Regions from separate parts of the Homo sapiens genome. Here regions 2 and 3 are each linked to region 1. Evidence: promoter capture Hi-C in human tissues and cell types (Jung and others, 2019). All regions are on one chromosome and are shown on one strand. The core of a region is centred on a gene start or on the middle of the fragment in contact, and the rest is flanking DNA. Distances in the headings are between cores, read along the strand shown.

The links. Contacts are between HindIII fragments. The study calls those that stand out against the background at their distance.
Region 2: a fragment that was not itself captured here is called in contact with the fragment with the promoter of ZBTB40 in region 1 in 1 of the 25 tissues and cell types used here (heart left ventricle).
Region 3: a contact is called between the fragment with the promoter of WNT4 here and the fragment with the promoter of ZBTB40 in region 1, in 1 of the 25 tissues and cell types used here (H1 embryonic stem cells).

What each region holds. Positions count from the first base shown.
Region 1 is chr1:22,449,891-22,454,774 of GRCh38, forward strand. ZBTB40 (zinc finger and BTB domain containing 40) reads left to right here and starts at 1,961. Exons shown (of 18, transcript NM_014870.4): 1 at 1,961-2,114. RefSeq lists silencers at 1,206-1,500, 1,815-2,014, 2,355-2,444 and enhancers at 1,890-2,451, 2,165-2,244. The HindIII fragment of the contact is 15,295 bases long and covers 1-4,884 here.
Region 2 is chr1:22,098,879-22,103,762 of GRCh38, forward strand. It overlaps CDC42 (cell division cycle 42), which reads left to right. Exons shown (of 6, transcript NM_001791.4): 6 at 1-2,482. Among named protein-coding and RNA genes, the nearest start is that of WNT4, 42 kb to the right of the region's middle. The HindIII fragment of the contact is 3,633 bases long and covers 336-3,968 here.
Region 3 is chr1:22,140,505-22,145,388 of GRCh38, forward strand. WNT4 (Wnt family member 4) reads right to left here and starts at 2,593. Exons shown (of 5, transcript NM_030761.5): 1 at 2,342-2,593. The coding sequence starts at 2,418. It overlaps LOC105376845 (a long non-coding RNA gene), which reads left to right and starts at 449. Exons shown (of 5, transcript XR_947050.1): 1 at 449-501. RefSeq lists silencers at 2,061-2,120, 2,683-3,012. The HindIII fragment of the contact is 15,863 bases long and covers 1-4,884 here.

The sequences.
Region 1 (4,884 bases), core at 711-3,210:
AGCACATTGGCAATGATACTGTTTTTTAAAATCCATTAATTCGATAAATATTTCTCTTTTTTTTTTTTTTGAGACGGAGTCTCGCTCTCGTTGCCCAGGCTGGAGTGCAGTGGCGTGATCTCAGCTCACTCCAACCTCCGCCTCCCAGGTTCAAGCGATTCTCCTGCCTCAGCATCCTGAGTAACTGGGATTACAGGCACCTGCCACCATGCCCAGGTAATTTTTCTATTTTTAGTAGAGACGGGGGTTTCACCATGTTGGCCAGGCTGGTCTCGAACTCCTGACCTCAGGTGATCCGCCTGCCTCGGCCTCCCAAAATGCTCCCAAAATGCCCAGTGGCTCACACCTGTAATCCCATTAACTCGATAAATATTTCTAGAGCACCTACTATGTGCCAAGCACCCTTCTAGGTGTTTGTTTGCTAAATCTAGCAACCCTATGTTCCCACTAAAAGAGAATGTGAGGCTGGTGGAAATGAGGGCTTAGGAGACACAACAGCTGTAGGCGTGGTTCCAGTTACTACAAAAGTGACTAAATAACAGCTACAGTAAATCCGACCCTGAATGTAACGGTGACATGAGTATAATAGTGAAAGTGACTAACTGGGCACAAGGGTATGAGGACAACAGTGTACCCTGAAGGGGCCTGTTAAATACTGGCTTGACTGTGTGGCAGCAAAAGTGGCTGCATGACAATGACAGTGAAAACAACAGAAAGGGCAACAGCTGGGCAAACAAAGTGCTATTTTGAACAGAACCGTTTGAAGTTTATGGTCAATGACGGTAGCTGCATGTCAGACAGTGACAGTAAATATGATCGACCGGGAGACAGCAACAATGCAAGTGACAGTTCTGCCCAGTAGATTGAATTTGTGATGTAAAACGGTGATGGGGTGAGTCAGTCAGCCAGAGACAGCTCTCAGAACGACTGAATATTGACATTGCAGATGGAAAAGGTATAACCACAGAGGAAGCTGGACATTGCACTAAGATGGCTGGATTTGGGCACGTAACTGTCAGGGACAGAAAAAGTGGCTGCATGTCAGTGACAGGGTGACTGTGTTCAGTGGGCCAGCGCGGAGGTGACTCAGTTTGTTACTGCTGGATCTGATTTAAATGTTTGTGTAAGGAAGGGTGGCAAGGGGACGCTTCAACAGGGAACGCATAGTGTGTGAGAAGGAAAATGAGCAAAAGAAAAGCTAGGACTAAATCCCAAAGCCCCTAAATCCCAAAATTGGGAGGTGCGAGAGGCAGGATCAGGATGCCTCCAGGATGCCTTCAGCCCACTGCGCCCCACCAGCGCCAAGCCTGTCCCACAAAGAGTGCGGGCTGGGGACGCGGCTCAGGTCGCCTCTCCGCCTCGCACGTGAATGTGTTGTTTTGGAAAAACGAAGCCTTTTGTGTTCACTTCCTTGCCCTCCTTTGAAACAAAATCCTAATCCTAGAGCTGCCGGAGCGAGACTGCGGAGCTCCATTAGAACTTTCCTTAGGGCCGGGCATGGTGGGAGGCCGAGGCAGGTGGATCATCTGGGCTCAGGAGTTCGGGACCAGCCTGGCCAACATGGTGACATCCTGTCTCTACTAAAAATAGAAGAGAAAAAAAAAATTAGCAGGGCGTGGTGGCGCGCGCCTGTAATCCCAGCTACTCGGGAGGCTGAGGCAGGAGAATCGCTTGAACCTGGAAGGCGGAGGCTGCAGTGGGGCGAGATCGCGCCGCTACACTCCAGCCTGGGAAACAAGAGCGAATCTCCCATCTCAAAAAAAAAAAAAAGAAAAAAACTTTACTTAGGAAGTGTGGGGAGGGAAGGAGGGAGTGGCCAAGGTCAGAGGTCAGAGAAGAGCCTAGCAACCAGCCGGCCCCCGCCGTCCTAGCATAGGTGGAGAGCGAGCGCGTGACGCAGGCCCCGCCCCCAGCACGTGACCGCGGCGCGTGGGGCAGGTCGGGCCGCCCCCTCCCCTCTGATACCCATTGCGCGCCGGCCTCAAGATGGCCGCCTTCTGGCGTCTCCGGCGCTGTTGAATGGCGAAAGCTTTATTGTTCCCTTCGGGCAGGAGTGTTCGTGTCCTCTATGGCGCTGTCAATAAAGAACGGCAGTTTGAATCGGTGCTGAACAGGTAACCATAGAAACGGGGCTGGGACTCCGCGTGGAGACCCTTCCTGCAGCGGGGGCCCGGGTGCGCCCTAAATGAGGGGTGTATACAGACCCTTCCGCGTGGCGAACTCCGCGGGACTCGGCCGAATCACGGCCGCCTCACCTACACCCCGGACGTGCCCCCTCCAGGGGCGGTCCGCACCCCTGGCGCCGGCTCTGCTGTAGACTGCGGAGGGGAGAGACCGCGGGGACCCACTCAGGGCGCCAGGCCCGACCTGACACCGCCTGGGGCTCGCTGTCGCCCCGCACCTCCCTCTCGGCCCGTCCGGAGGCCTCTTGTCGCTGTCTCACTCCCCCTCCCTTCAGGTCCCTTCGCCGGGCGTCAGCGGACTATGGCCTTGGGCCTAATCCATGCCCCCCTTCTCTCTTCCCCTCTCGGTCTTTGTTTACAGTTGCAAATGGTTAGGGGGAAGAATATTTCATGTAATTTGCGAAAGTTCTATGAAATCAAGTCCATAAATGAAGTTTTATTGGAACACGGCCCTGTTCATTGTTGATGTATTGTCTATGGCTGCTTTCCTGCCAAGAGGGCAGAGCTGAGTAGTTGCGCAGCCGTTGCTTGGCTTTGATCGGCTGGCTCACAAAGCCAGAAATATTTCTGTCTGGTCCCTTACAGCAAAAGTTTACTGACCCCTGCCCTAAACACAAGGAGATTGGATCAGTGTTGTCATTCAGCTATTCCTCTCGTCGGTTCTTCTGGAGTGGGAAAAGAGTTAAAACTGCGCGATGCACCGAGAGCACTTTAGTTGACAGAACACTCTGGCTTCCCTTCTGGTCTTACTGACTATTCAGAGTTTCTCCTGCTTTGAATAGCGTTGGTACCATGCAGCCAGTGCTGCAATGAACCAGGTGCTTTATTTATATTCATACAAGTGTTGTTCTACTTTATGACGACGCTTTATAAGTAAGTATGGTATTTCCATTTTACAAACGAGGAAGAAATTTGTTCTGAGTGGTTAATATATGTATAGGTGTACTAGGTTATAGGGCTGCCAAATTGAGCCTGTCCCTGGGAGCCCCCTGCCTGATGGCACCGGTCAAACTGCTTTGGATTTTATTCTTTCAAGTCTTTTCTACCTGGAATTGTTTGTTCTTCCCTGGAATTGTACCCAGATCTTTGTATGGTTAATGGAGATTTAATTACAATCTCAGTGAAATTTTTTTCTACTTAGCTAAATCATCAAACTTCTGCCCCTCCTTTCTAATATAAACACTTTTCTTCTATGTCAGTAGTCCCCAAACTTAGCTATTCATTAGTGGTTTAACAAATGGTTTCAGAACACCCCATGCATGTACGCATGCATTCATTAATCATTTAGTGTTTGTTGAGCACTTACTGTGTACCAGAGACGTTTCAAATTCCTGGAAATACAGTGGTGAACAAGACAAATATGATTTCTGCCCTTCCATGGAATTTAAATTCTATGTGGGGCTTGGACAAGTGGTATACAGGTAGACAAAGATAATTTCAAATACAGCTGTAATAGCATCATCATAATAAAATTATTAGTTGCTATTTACTGAGTGATTATTTTGTGCCAGGTACTGTGCTAAGTGCTTTATTTATATGGACTATCACTTAATCCTCACACCAATACTATGACATAAGTAGTATTAATATTACCATTTTACGCATAGAGGAAACAAACTCACGTCGGAGAGATGTTCGAGGTTACATAGCTAAGGCATTCAGCTGAGAGCTGAAGCTAATCTGATCACACTGAACACCCTGTATTGTTCCATCTGTTTATTGTCTTTCCTACTAGCTTAGGAGGTCCTTAAGGGCAGGGACCACACCTTACTGTTGTTATCCTCAGCTGCTAGCCAGTACCCACAACCTGGTGTTTGCAGGTAAATACCAAGTAAACAAATCTAGGTCATTCATTGAACAAATTTTTATTTTATTTTATTTTATTTATTTTTTTGAGACAGAGTCTCGCTGTGTTGCCCAGGCTGGAGTGCAGTGGCACAATCTCGGCTCACTGCAACCTCCGCCTCCCGGGTTCAAGTGATTCTTCTGCCTCAACCTCCTGAATGGCTGGGACTACAGGCATGTGCCACGACACCCGGCTAATTTTTTGTGTGTTTTTAGTAGAGACAGAGTTTCACCATGTTGTTCAGGCTGGTCTTGAAGTCTTGACCTCAAGTGATCTGCCCGCCTCAGCCTCCCAAAGTGCTGGGATTATAGGCGTGAGCCATCGCGCCCGGCCTCGAACAAATATTTTAGTGTCTCCATGTACCAAGCACCACTGTCTAGGTCCTGTGATTACCAGGGTGAGCAAGATGGACCTGGGGCTCTGTTCTGGAAGCTAAAGCCTAGTGTCAAGACAGTAAAGAAATAACAAAGTTATTCCAAATTGTGGCAACTGCTCTAAAGGAAATAAAACAGCACGGAGAGAGACACTAACCTGGGAGACTCACTTTTTATCTGGGTGGTCAGGGAAAACCTCTCTTAAGAAAGGCAGTTTAAGCTGAAACTTGTTGAGTGACAAGGAACCAGTCTAGCAAGAAGGGGAAAGGGAGAGACGAAGCTGGGAGGAAGAACTTTTCAGCAGGTTCAGAGACTAAGGTGGGTAACAACGTGAGATGTTGGAGAACTCAAAGGGAGTCACTGTGCTGTGGTTCACTCCTGTGCTCAGTCCCTGGCCGTGAACCCAGCTACTACTGAGAGAACTGCACGCCCAAGGGCAAGTTACAGATTAGTTATCTGACCTGGAAAATGTGGATAATGG
Region 2 (4,884 bases), core at 902-3,401, 350 kb before region 1:
CTCCCGAGTAGAAGGTACTACAGGTGTGTGACACCACGCCTGGCTCATTTTTGCATTTTGTGTAGAGAGGGGGTTTTGCCATTTTACCCAGGCTGGTCTCGAACTCCTGAGCTGATCCTCCCACCTCGGCCTCCCAACGTGCTGGGATTACAGGCATTAGCCACTGTGCCCAGCTGGGTATGGATTTCTGAGTGGAGGGAATGTGAACAAAGGAGGGCCCAGGCATGTTTGCAGAGTGGCTGGGGGCCCTGCTTCACCACGGCATAGGGACGGGTGCAGTAGGAAGAAAGGTAGCCTCAAGGCCCCCATAAATAAATTGGTGCATTAAGGAAGGAATATTAATCACATCCAGGAGGGCTCTGCCCTAACTGCTGAGAATCATAAAAGAAATGGGGACATATTCTGGCGAAATAACAGCTTTGTTAATTGAGCTCTTACTGTGTGCCTTTGCACTGTGTTAAGCACATGGTGTTATCACACTTGCTACTCACAACAGCTCTGAGGTTGATAGTACAGGTATCTTCTTTTTATGGAGCAGGACTCTGAGACATCATAATTGCTTGGTATATGCAGCCAGAGTTGGAAATCCTATCTGTCTGATTTTGGAAACTGTGTGCTTACCATTACATATCTTATGTGGAAATAAAATGTATATGATTAATTACAAAGCTGAAAATCGTAGTTGAAGCATCATATAGTGCACAGGGCAAGCAAAGCAGCATAAAAGGCTTCATCTGTAAGGGTAGGTTTGTTGGGTAGGAGCTTTTTGGGGGAGGTGACTTTAGGATCAGTTGTAGCATGAGAGAATATGACACCTTCTTCCTTTAGAGGATCTAAAGGTGTAGCTTTAGAGGATTGTAGGGTGCCTTTGCCCATTGTGTCATTTGGTCCTTCTTAAAATTTGAGTGTTTATTCTCTACATGGCACTCTTTTAAGCCTTTGTGTGAATTAACTCAGTCTTCTCAGCAATCCCCCATTTTTTCATATGTGGAAACTGAGGCATGTTATGATACAAAGCTTGTCCAAGAATTCAGAGCTAGCTTGTCCAAGAATTCAGAGCTAGTAAGTGAGGGAACTGGGATTTGAATTTAAGCAGTCTGTCTCTAGAGTCTGCTCAGCTGGCCTTTTTTTCTTTCTTCTTCTTCTTCTTCTTTTTTTTTTTTTTTGTATAATAGGCCTGTGAGTTGGGAAGAGCAGGGTTTGTTTGGTGAGAAAGTTGCACCTTAGTGAATACCCAAGGTCTGAGGGAGGCTTGGAGCCAGCTCTGCAACCTGGCTCCCTTCTTTCATTAGCTTGACCCAAGCACAGGGAGATGACTGGGGCTCTGCCTTCATCTTCTCTGCAAACGGTCAGGGATACTCATGCAGTTTTTGAGTTTAAGTAGTAAACTCCTAAACTTCAAGTCATGTTTGTATTAGTGATTTCACTTGACCTCAGTACAACTCTGTAAAAGAGGCAGGGATGGATGATGTCATTTGTCAAATGGTAAAACTGAGGCGAAACAACTTGGCATTGTTGGTGTTGTGCGAAGTACATGCATAGGCTTTGGATTTGAGTTTGGCTCTGCCACTAACTTGATCTATGTCTTCAGGCAAGTAACTTAAATGCTCTGAGTGTTGCATTCTCTGTGAAGTGGAAATAGCTGTACTTTGCCCAAGAGTTGTGAGAGTGACATGAATTGCTATATGTGAGGTTCTTAGCATAGTGCCTGGCAAGTAGAAGGTACTCATCTGTGAATGGGGTAGATAGCAGCTGTCTTCATCACTGTCATCATTGTTGGCTCACATCAAATCAGGACCAGAAAACCCTGTTGACTTCTGGGTCTTAAACTGCTGTATCAGTGAGGGGCTTCCTCCTCATACTCATTGCCAGGAGTAGAGTAAGGCTTTTAATTTCATCTCTAACCAACTCTGATAGGGCTGGAAATGTGTATGGAGTTCCAGACCCACCATGGGGCCCCAGTGCTAGCTTCTTAGCCCTCCTTTGTAAGGTTTGCACTAGTTTGATGGGAGAGGGATTTTTTTTGTCTTGATTCTGAAGCTCTTAAAGAAATGCTCCTTTTTCTCCATAACTTGAGGATTTCACAATTGTATTGGAATTATTGGTGTTAAGGAGTTAGGTCCATCTCTTGGCAGCTTGTGAAGGGTGGGCAGGCACCTGTGAATTCTTCACTGGCTTCTTGTAAGAATGACTTTACTGGAGGGTGCTGAGTTTGTGATTATCTCCTCTGCTGCTAGAAAACTCCGTGAACCCTGGTACATATAGCGTGATAAATCAAGTCCTGTTTTTGCTCCTAACTTGCATTATGGTGTTTGATACTATATCTTCATTTCTCCCATGGTAGTAATAACACTGTTGGAAAGAGCTCTCAGTTGGAAGTTGAAGATCCAGGTTCTAGTTGAGGCACCAGAGTTTCCTTGGGCAAGTTGCCATACCTTTTTGGGCCTTGGTTTCCTCATCTCAATAAAATGAGTTTCTGTTCCTTTTTGGTTTGTGTCTTTTTTTCAGTAGGCCTTCTTTTTCATAAACAAAAGCTTATATAGAGCCCCACTGTAGAAACAGAAAAGGTGTATGAAACAGAGTTGCTGTAGTTAATGCAGGCCCAGCAGCTTTACTCTTCCCACTGCCTCCTTGTTGCAAACAGAGATAAACTTTGTGCAGCCCTAGTAACCTCTAAGGTGTTGCCAAGGGATTTGAACACGACTGGTGCAGGTTCATTTCTGTAGCCTCTTAAGTTTCAGGATTTTTTGCTAGCTATTGACAGGTAGTTAACAAAAATCTATAAAACCTGTATACTAAATATACAAGTAGACTAGTGAGTCTTCAAGAATTTTGTGATTATTATCCCTATATGGAGAATCTTTTTAGATTTTTACTGATATAGTTGAGAGATTCTAAGTTTGGTTCAGTCTGTAGTTTTAAAAAAAATGTATAGCAGTAACCAGTAAAGACCGAGTTGGTTTTTGTTTATAGGATAAATACGGCTGCTTTTTTTTTTTGAGACGAAGTTCCGCTCTTGTTGCCCAGGCTGGAGTGCAATGGCGTGATCTTGGCTCACTGCAACTTCCACCTCGAAGGTTCAAGCAGTTCTCCTGCCTCAGCTTCCTGAGTAGCTGGGATTACAGGCATGTGCCACCACGCCCAGCTCATTTTTTGGTATTTTTAGTAGAGACGGGGTTTCTCCATGTTGGTCAGGCTGGTCTCGAACTCCCAACCTCAGGTGATCCTCCCGCCTCGACCTCTCAAAGTGCTGGGATTACAGGCGTGAGCCACTGGGCCTGGCCAAATACGGCTTCTTAACAGCGGCAGACAGGATATTTTCCTACCTTATGGATCACTTCCTTTTGGGAATACTAGTAGGATCCAAGCATAAATATAATTCAGTGGTGAAACTAGATCCCTTTACACAGACTTATCTGTTTCCCTTCTTGTAAGTATCCTGGCATTCTTCATTACAATTTATATAAAATAGCATATTTCCTGTTGTTCATGTTTCAGGAATCATTCTAGTGCCAGTTCTATGTAGAACTTTTTGATTTTAAAGAGAAAAACTGTATTAAATAGTAGGAAAAGCACATATATTTTGGAGTAGAAGGCCCTAACTTTGAATCTGGCTCTGTTAATGACTAGCTGTGTTTGGGCAAACTGCTTTAGTTTTTGAGTCTTGATTTACACATCTGTAAAATCGAGCCAATTCTGCAGAGTTGTCATTAGGATTTAGGGATAAGGTACTCTCCTCCAATAAGCACTCGGACAAGAGGATAGACAAAGCTTTGTCTGATAGGGAATTCTCATAGAAGAACAGCCAATTTTATAATGGTAGTGGGTACAAAATGGTAATTTGTCACTGTGATTTACTTTTGTTTAGGCATTTATTCATTTCAGGAATGCTTATCTATATCTTGTCTGTTTTGTAGGAGCCAGTATAGAGTAGTATTAAAAACATAGACTCTAGAGCCAGACTGCCTGGTTTTGAATCTTGGGTTCACTGTTTACTGGCTGTGTGATCTTGGGCAAGATATTTAACTTGGATGTTTTTCTTTTGAGGATAGTAACAATATCACCTCACGGGGTTTCATGAGGATTAGACAAGTTCATGTGCGTAAAGTGCTTACAACAGTGTTTGGTTATTATTGTTAGCTGTTGTATGATTATCTTGAGGGAAGCTTGCTGCTTAGAGATCTTGAGACTTACAGAGCTAGCCCGAATGGCAAATATGTTTGAATTAAGCATTTCCTGTAGACTGTGTTTAATAGTTCAGATGGGTAGGAATGCAGTTCAAAAAACCTGTCAAGCAATCCCAGTAGTATTTTCTGATGAACCCTCAAGTCCTTCTGGATAAGACCCCAGCTAGTGCTGAAATGTGGTGAGGCCTGTGTTTCCTCCCTGAAAATAATGACCAAGATTTTACATTTGCACAGTGTGTCACGTTCTTTCAGTTTATTCCCACAGTCTGTGAGGTGGATAGGCCAAGGGTGATAATTCATTACATTTTAAAATAAGGGTATGGTCTCTGGGAAGGAAAACAATTTGCTTAGAGTTGTACAGCTGTTTGGTGACTACACTTCAGGCCTCTGTTTTTAGGCCAGTGTTCTTTTATGCCAGCCTGGTCCTGCTCTCTTCTGATAGAGGTTCTAAGGAATTGTTACCTTGTAGTAACCAGTGATCTATGGATCATGACTGTGGGGTTGAGAGTCGTAACCAGTGCCTTTTTAGCTCATAGAACTCTTGGAGGAGCTAATGGTACTTCCCCGTGGGGCCAGTGGTGGGTCTGATGCACCTCTGGGAATAATAGTAATAATAAAAGGAAGAAACAAAGTGTGATTTGCCCGATTGAGGGTGACTAGGAGTGACTTTGGGAACACATCTAATTGTTTGTCAGTA
Region 3 (4,884 bases), core at 1,343-3,842, 310 kb before region 1:
CATGTGCCCTGTTCCACCCAGTCGTGGTTTTATCATGTCTTTCTACCTAGACTCCAGGCTTGTGGGAGGCCAGGCTGTGACATCCATTTCCCCCAGAGCTGCCATTCCTGGCCAGCTGATTGTTCGACAGAGGTTGATAAATATTGGACCAACCTTGGTATGTGCCCAGTGTCTTCTCCTTCATAGCCTCTCTGGTTTGGGAGGGTCCTGGGAAGCCTCTTGTTCCTCTTGCCTTGGGTGGAGCAGAGAGACCCTTGGCTTGAAGCCGGGGGTGGAGCAGGAGTGAGCTGGGTCATCCAGAGACCTGCTTCGTGGCAACCTGAACCATCACCGTTGCAGAGAACAGGTTTGCCAACCTCTCTTCTCCTAGGCTGCCCCTCCTCACCCCACCCCCAACAGCACAGGCAGGAGAACTGAGTTGTTGGAATTCCCCACAGTTTGCATGATCCAAAGCCGAGGCTGCCTTCCTGGCTGGGATTCTGGGGGTGGACATGGGTGAAGGTGAGTGGTGATGCCACCGGGCCATGCTGGCTCCACTTTGGGACAGCTTCAGGGAAGGGGGTATAGGGTCACTGCCTGGGAGTCAGAACACCTGGGTTCAGTTCTCAGCTCTGAGTTTGGGCAAGTAGCTTCCACTCCCTAGGCCTCAGTTTCCTCATCTGAGTCAAAGATGAGATGTTCCTGAAGGACTTTCCACTGCAGATGTCGCTGTCTTCCATGTAGGCCTGGGCCAGACGCTTGGACTGCCACTTTTTTTTCTTTGTTTTTTGTTTGTTTGTTTGTTTTTTGTGGCTTTGGCGGTGCTGGGCAGGTGAGACACAGTTCTTGCTCCTTCTGATGCTCAGATCTGTTTTGGAGGCCCCCGCTCTGAACCCATGCATTCAAGAACCAGCTCCAGGGACACCCAGGGTCCTCCAAGTCCAAATCAGCTCCCTCCCCAGCTCTGTGACCCAGGCTCCATTCAGGGGGTGGCCTGCAGGGGGGCAGTGGGAGAAGGTGGTGGTGCCTTGCTTTCTGTACACTCTGCCACTGCTCCTGAAGTGTTAATCAAATTAAGGCTCCAAGAAAAACAAAAGCTCCGCAGCCACTTCGGGCTGCCTTGGAGTCGTTTGCTCTCGGAACAGCTGGGAGAATTCCACATCACCTCCGTCCCCCAAGCCCTGGGTGGCTCTGACCCCAACGAACACACTCCTTCCAGCCTGGAGGGCTCTGGCTGGCCACAATGACCTCATAGCAACAGCCATTGGACACTCGGGGCAATTTCATGGGAGATATTTGTTCTTTGGTCTTGATGCAGAGAGAATTTTTTCCTCTCTCCCTGTCTCCATGGAAACCCCAGCTACACTGTTGGCGATCCCCCTTCCCACCCCATGCTTTTCAGATCAATATTGGAGCTTGGCTCCCCACTGGCTGCCCACAGCGGATGGTGGCAGAGCTCTGGGCAGGAGGAACTGGGGCCAGGGTTAAGCGCGGGGCATGGGGAACTGTCCCTGAGCGGGGATGAAAGGAGCGCGGGTCCGCTTGCTCCCTGTCCACCCACTCACTGGAGCTCATCCCTTTAGTCTCCCTCCCTGCAGCAAACCTTCCGCCCCTACCCAGGGAGCGCCCTGAGCGCAGATCCAGTCAAGGAGAAACAGACAGGTCACCAGCGGTTACCACCCCTTCCTCCTTAGGCTAGACACGGGGAGCTGGGGGGCCGTTGTCTTCTTTAAGGTCTGGACGGAGTTTCTTCCTGCCCCGGGGAAAAACCAAGGCCCGGCCAGCGCCAGCGCCAGCCCCGGGCCCTGGGAGACCAGGCGTCCTGGTCCCTTCCTTCTGTCTCCGGCTCCCGCCCCCCAAGCAGAAACAGGTCCCTGCACGCCTCCAGCCCAGCCCGCAGCGCGGCGCAGCTCGGCGCAGCTCGGCGCTGGGAGCTCGCTCCGGACTTCTCGGGATTAACCTGCTATTATGTCCCGGAGCCCTTCCCTGCAATGGGCTTCCTCAGCGACCTGTCAGCCCGGCTGGACTGCAACCCGCGTCCGGCGCCCCTCCCGGGCCACCGCCCCGCGCTCGCACCCCTGGCGCCCTCGAGAGCCCCGAGCCGCCTACCGGTGCGGACGCCGCCACAGCCACCCCTGACGCCTCTGGGCAGGGAGCCGGACCCGGGCAGGAGGGGACCCCGGGTGTGCAGAGGGACGTTCGGGCCGTGGCGGCGGCAGCGGAGCGAGCGAGCCTCCGGTCCCGCGGCCGAGACACCTGCCGGGCTGCCCCGCGCCCGCTGCCCCGCGCCGCCTGGCACCGGCCGCTGCCCCCGGGGCCTGCCCCGCCCCGCCCCGCCCCGCTCGGCCCCGGCCAGACTTACAGCCAGTTGCTCGCGGCGGCTGAGAAGACGGCGAAGACGAGGAGGCGCAGCGAACGCAGGCACGAGCGGGGACTCATGGTGCCGCCGCGGGCGCCCGGCCCGGGGCAGCGGCTGCGGCCGCGGGGGGCCTCCCGTCGGGGCTGCAGGTGGGCGCCCGCGGGCGGGCCGGGGCGCGCGCGGCGGGGCTCTGCCTCCGTGTGCCTGCCGGCAGCCTGCCCGCTGCTGCGCCCGCTGCCCGGCGCGGACCAGACTGTCAGCGCCGCCCCAGAGCCGGGATGCGGCGGCGGCGGCGGCGGCGGCGGCGGCGGAGGCGGGCGGGCGGGCGGGCGGCCGGGGGGGCGGGCCGGGGGCGGGCCGAGGATGGGGTTACCTGGGCGGGCCCAGCGGCCCGGGACACCCCCCCGGGGGCGGGCCGGAGCGGCGGCGGCTGCCGCCTTAGCCCGCGGGACTGGGCTGCTCCCGGGGCCTCCCCGGCTGGGCGCTCCGGAGGACTTGGGGCCCGAGCCCGCTCCAGGCACGCCTGGCTGCGCGCCGCCGAGCCCGGCCCGGCTAGAGGCGCGGCGACCCAGCTGCCCGGCCGCCGCCCGGGCCTAGGGGACAGGCGGGCACAGCTCCCCCAACCCGCCGCTGCGGGCACTGCAGCGCGGCCCTCGCTGTCCCCCTACCCCCCCCACCGCCCCCCGCCGGCGCCTGGAGCCCAGACCCCGGTCCGACCGCGGCGGACCCACCGGAGCGCGGCTACCACTCGCGCGCACCCAGGCGCTGGCGCTCCGGGTGCCTGGGGCTGCACATCGGGGCGCTGGATGTCTCCCGACCGCCCCCCGCCCGGCCCCTCCCTGCCTCCTGGCCCCCGCGTCCTGCGGCCCAGCCCCTCCCTGGCGCTCACCTCCCTACAGCCTTCCGGGAGCTGGACGGGGCCTCCCCAGCTTTGGGCAGCTTGGGACAGTGGCCCGAGACTGTGGGAATCCGAAACCTCGCTTCTGGCTAGCCACAAGGTCTGGGCGCGCCCCAGGCAGCAGGGTCTTGACTCTGAGCCTCCGTTTTCTCATCCGGGAAGTGGGCTTAAGACGCTGTGATTGGGAGGACAGGAGGAGTTTAGGGAAGCTCTCTTGGCTCACTCACCAAGTCTTACTTTGCATTTGGTTTTCTATGTGCTTGTTCGATTTATCCTCCCATACTAGGCAGATTCAGCCTCTTGTTTGTTTTGGGCACAGGGCGGTGCCTGCCATGTTTGTGGAAGGAATAAATGAATGGAATGGAATGGGCTGCAACAGCCTGTGCTTGGCTAGTCCAGAGAGCTCAATTCCACATCACTGTAACCCCTAAGAATTGTCTGCCCAAGTCCACGCCACACCCTCTCAGGTCACTGATCTGATTCTGTGTGCTACTCATCCTCCAGGCTGCATCCCCCAGCTGCTCACAGGTAGAGGGACCTCTTATCTAAACAGTAAAACTAAGGCCCGGAAAGGGAGGCACCTGTCCCACCTCCCTAGGGGTTGGGAACAGAGGCAAGGACCAGGTCTATGCCCTCACCCCCTGATCTTAGTTCTTCACTGATTTTGGAGTATGAAGTTTGCTCCCACAGAGGCCATCATGTTTGGGTGCTGGGATGGTGCCCTGGGGTCCCCTGGGCTCAGAACAGAGGAAGGGCTCAGTAAACATTTGGTATTGGGACTGGGTGGAACGTGGCAGGGATTTGTGGGGCTGGGCAAGAGTATAGATGGAGGTTCACATACCATATGTCCAAATATTTGCAGGCTATAAATCAAGCTAACAAAATGCAAAATAAATTATGTTCTATTCTTCTATCTTGACAAATACACTTTCCTAACAAGGCAGAAAGCTGGCTTTGAGTGTGGCATTCTCATACTCCTCAGACCTTGCCCTGGAGCTGGTGGCACAGGGAGAGGGGGCCCCTAGTGCCTGGCCTGGGCCCCTGCCCCCTACCTTTTCCTACCTCTGCCTCTGTCCTGTCCTTCGAGAGTCTTGTGCACATTCATGAACATCTCAGCCTGCACATGCAAGCTCAGCCCCTTGGTAGCCCCTCAGGCTTAGGGCTGGGCACGCCAGTGGTGTACTCTGTCCTCGGGCTGGATCTGCGGAAGAGACCCACGCAGGTCCTGGCAGTGGGCTAAGGGCCATCTCTGCAGGGAACCCCAGGGGCCTGGGCACCCAGAGTATGCTCTAGTGGAGGTGCCACAAGTTCCAGGTGGGCATGTCCCCTTGTCCCATGGTCTTCCCTCCTTGTGATGAGAGGTTAGCTGGAGGAGGGCCAGACTGGGGGGGTCCCCAGGGCAGGGGCCACTCTCACCTGTGTTTAAGGGTGGTACTGAAGTGCTGACCTATTTTGAACCAGCATATTCACTTCCTGGAGACTCAGTATGGTATGGTGGAAAATAATAATAACAACGATAATAATTTAGATGGCAACAGGTAATTATGTTAGGATGGCCATATAATTTTCTTCCAAACCAGGATGTTTTCAAGAGTGACGGGGGGCTCTAACTGGAAGATTTGCCAGGCTACCAGGCATAGACCAAGAC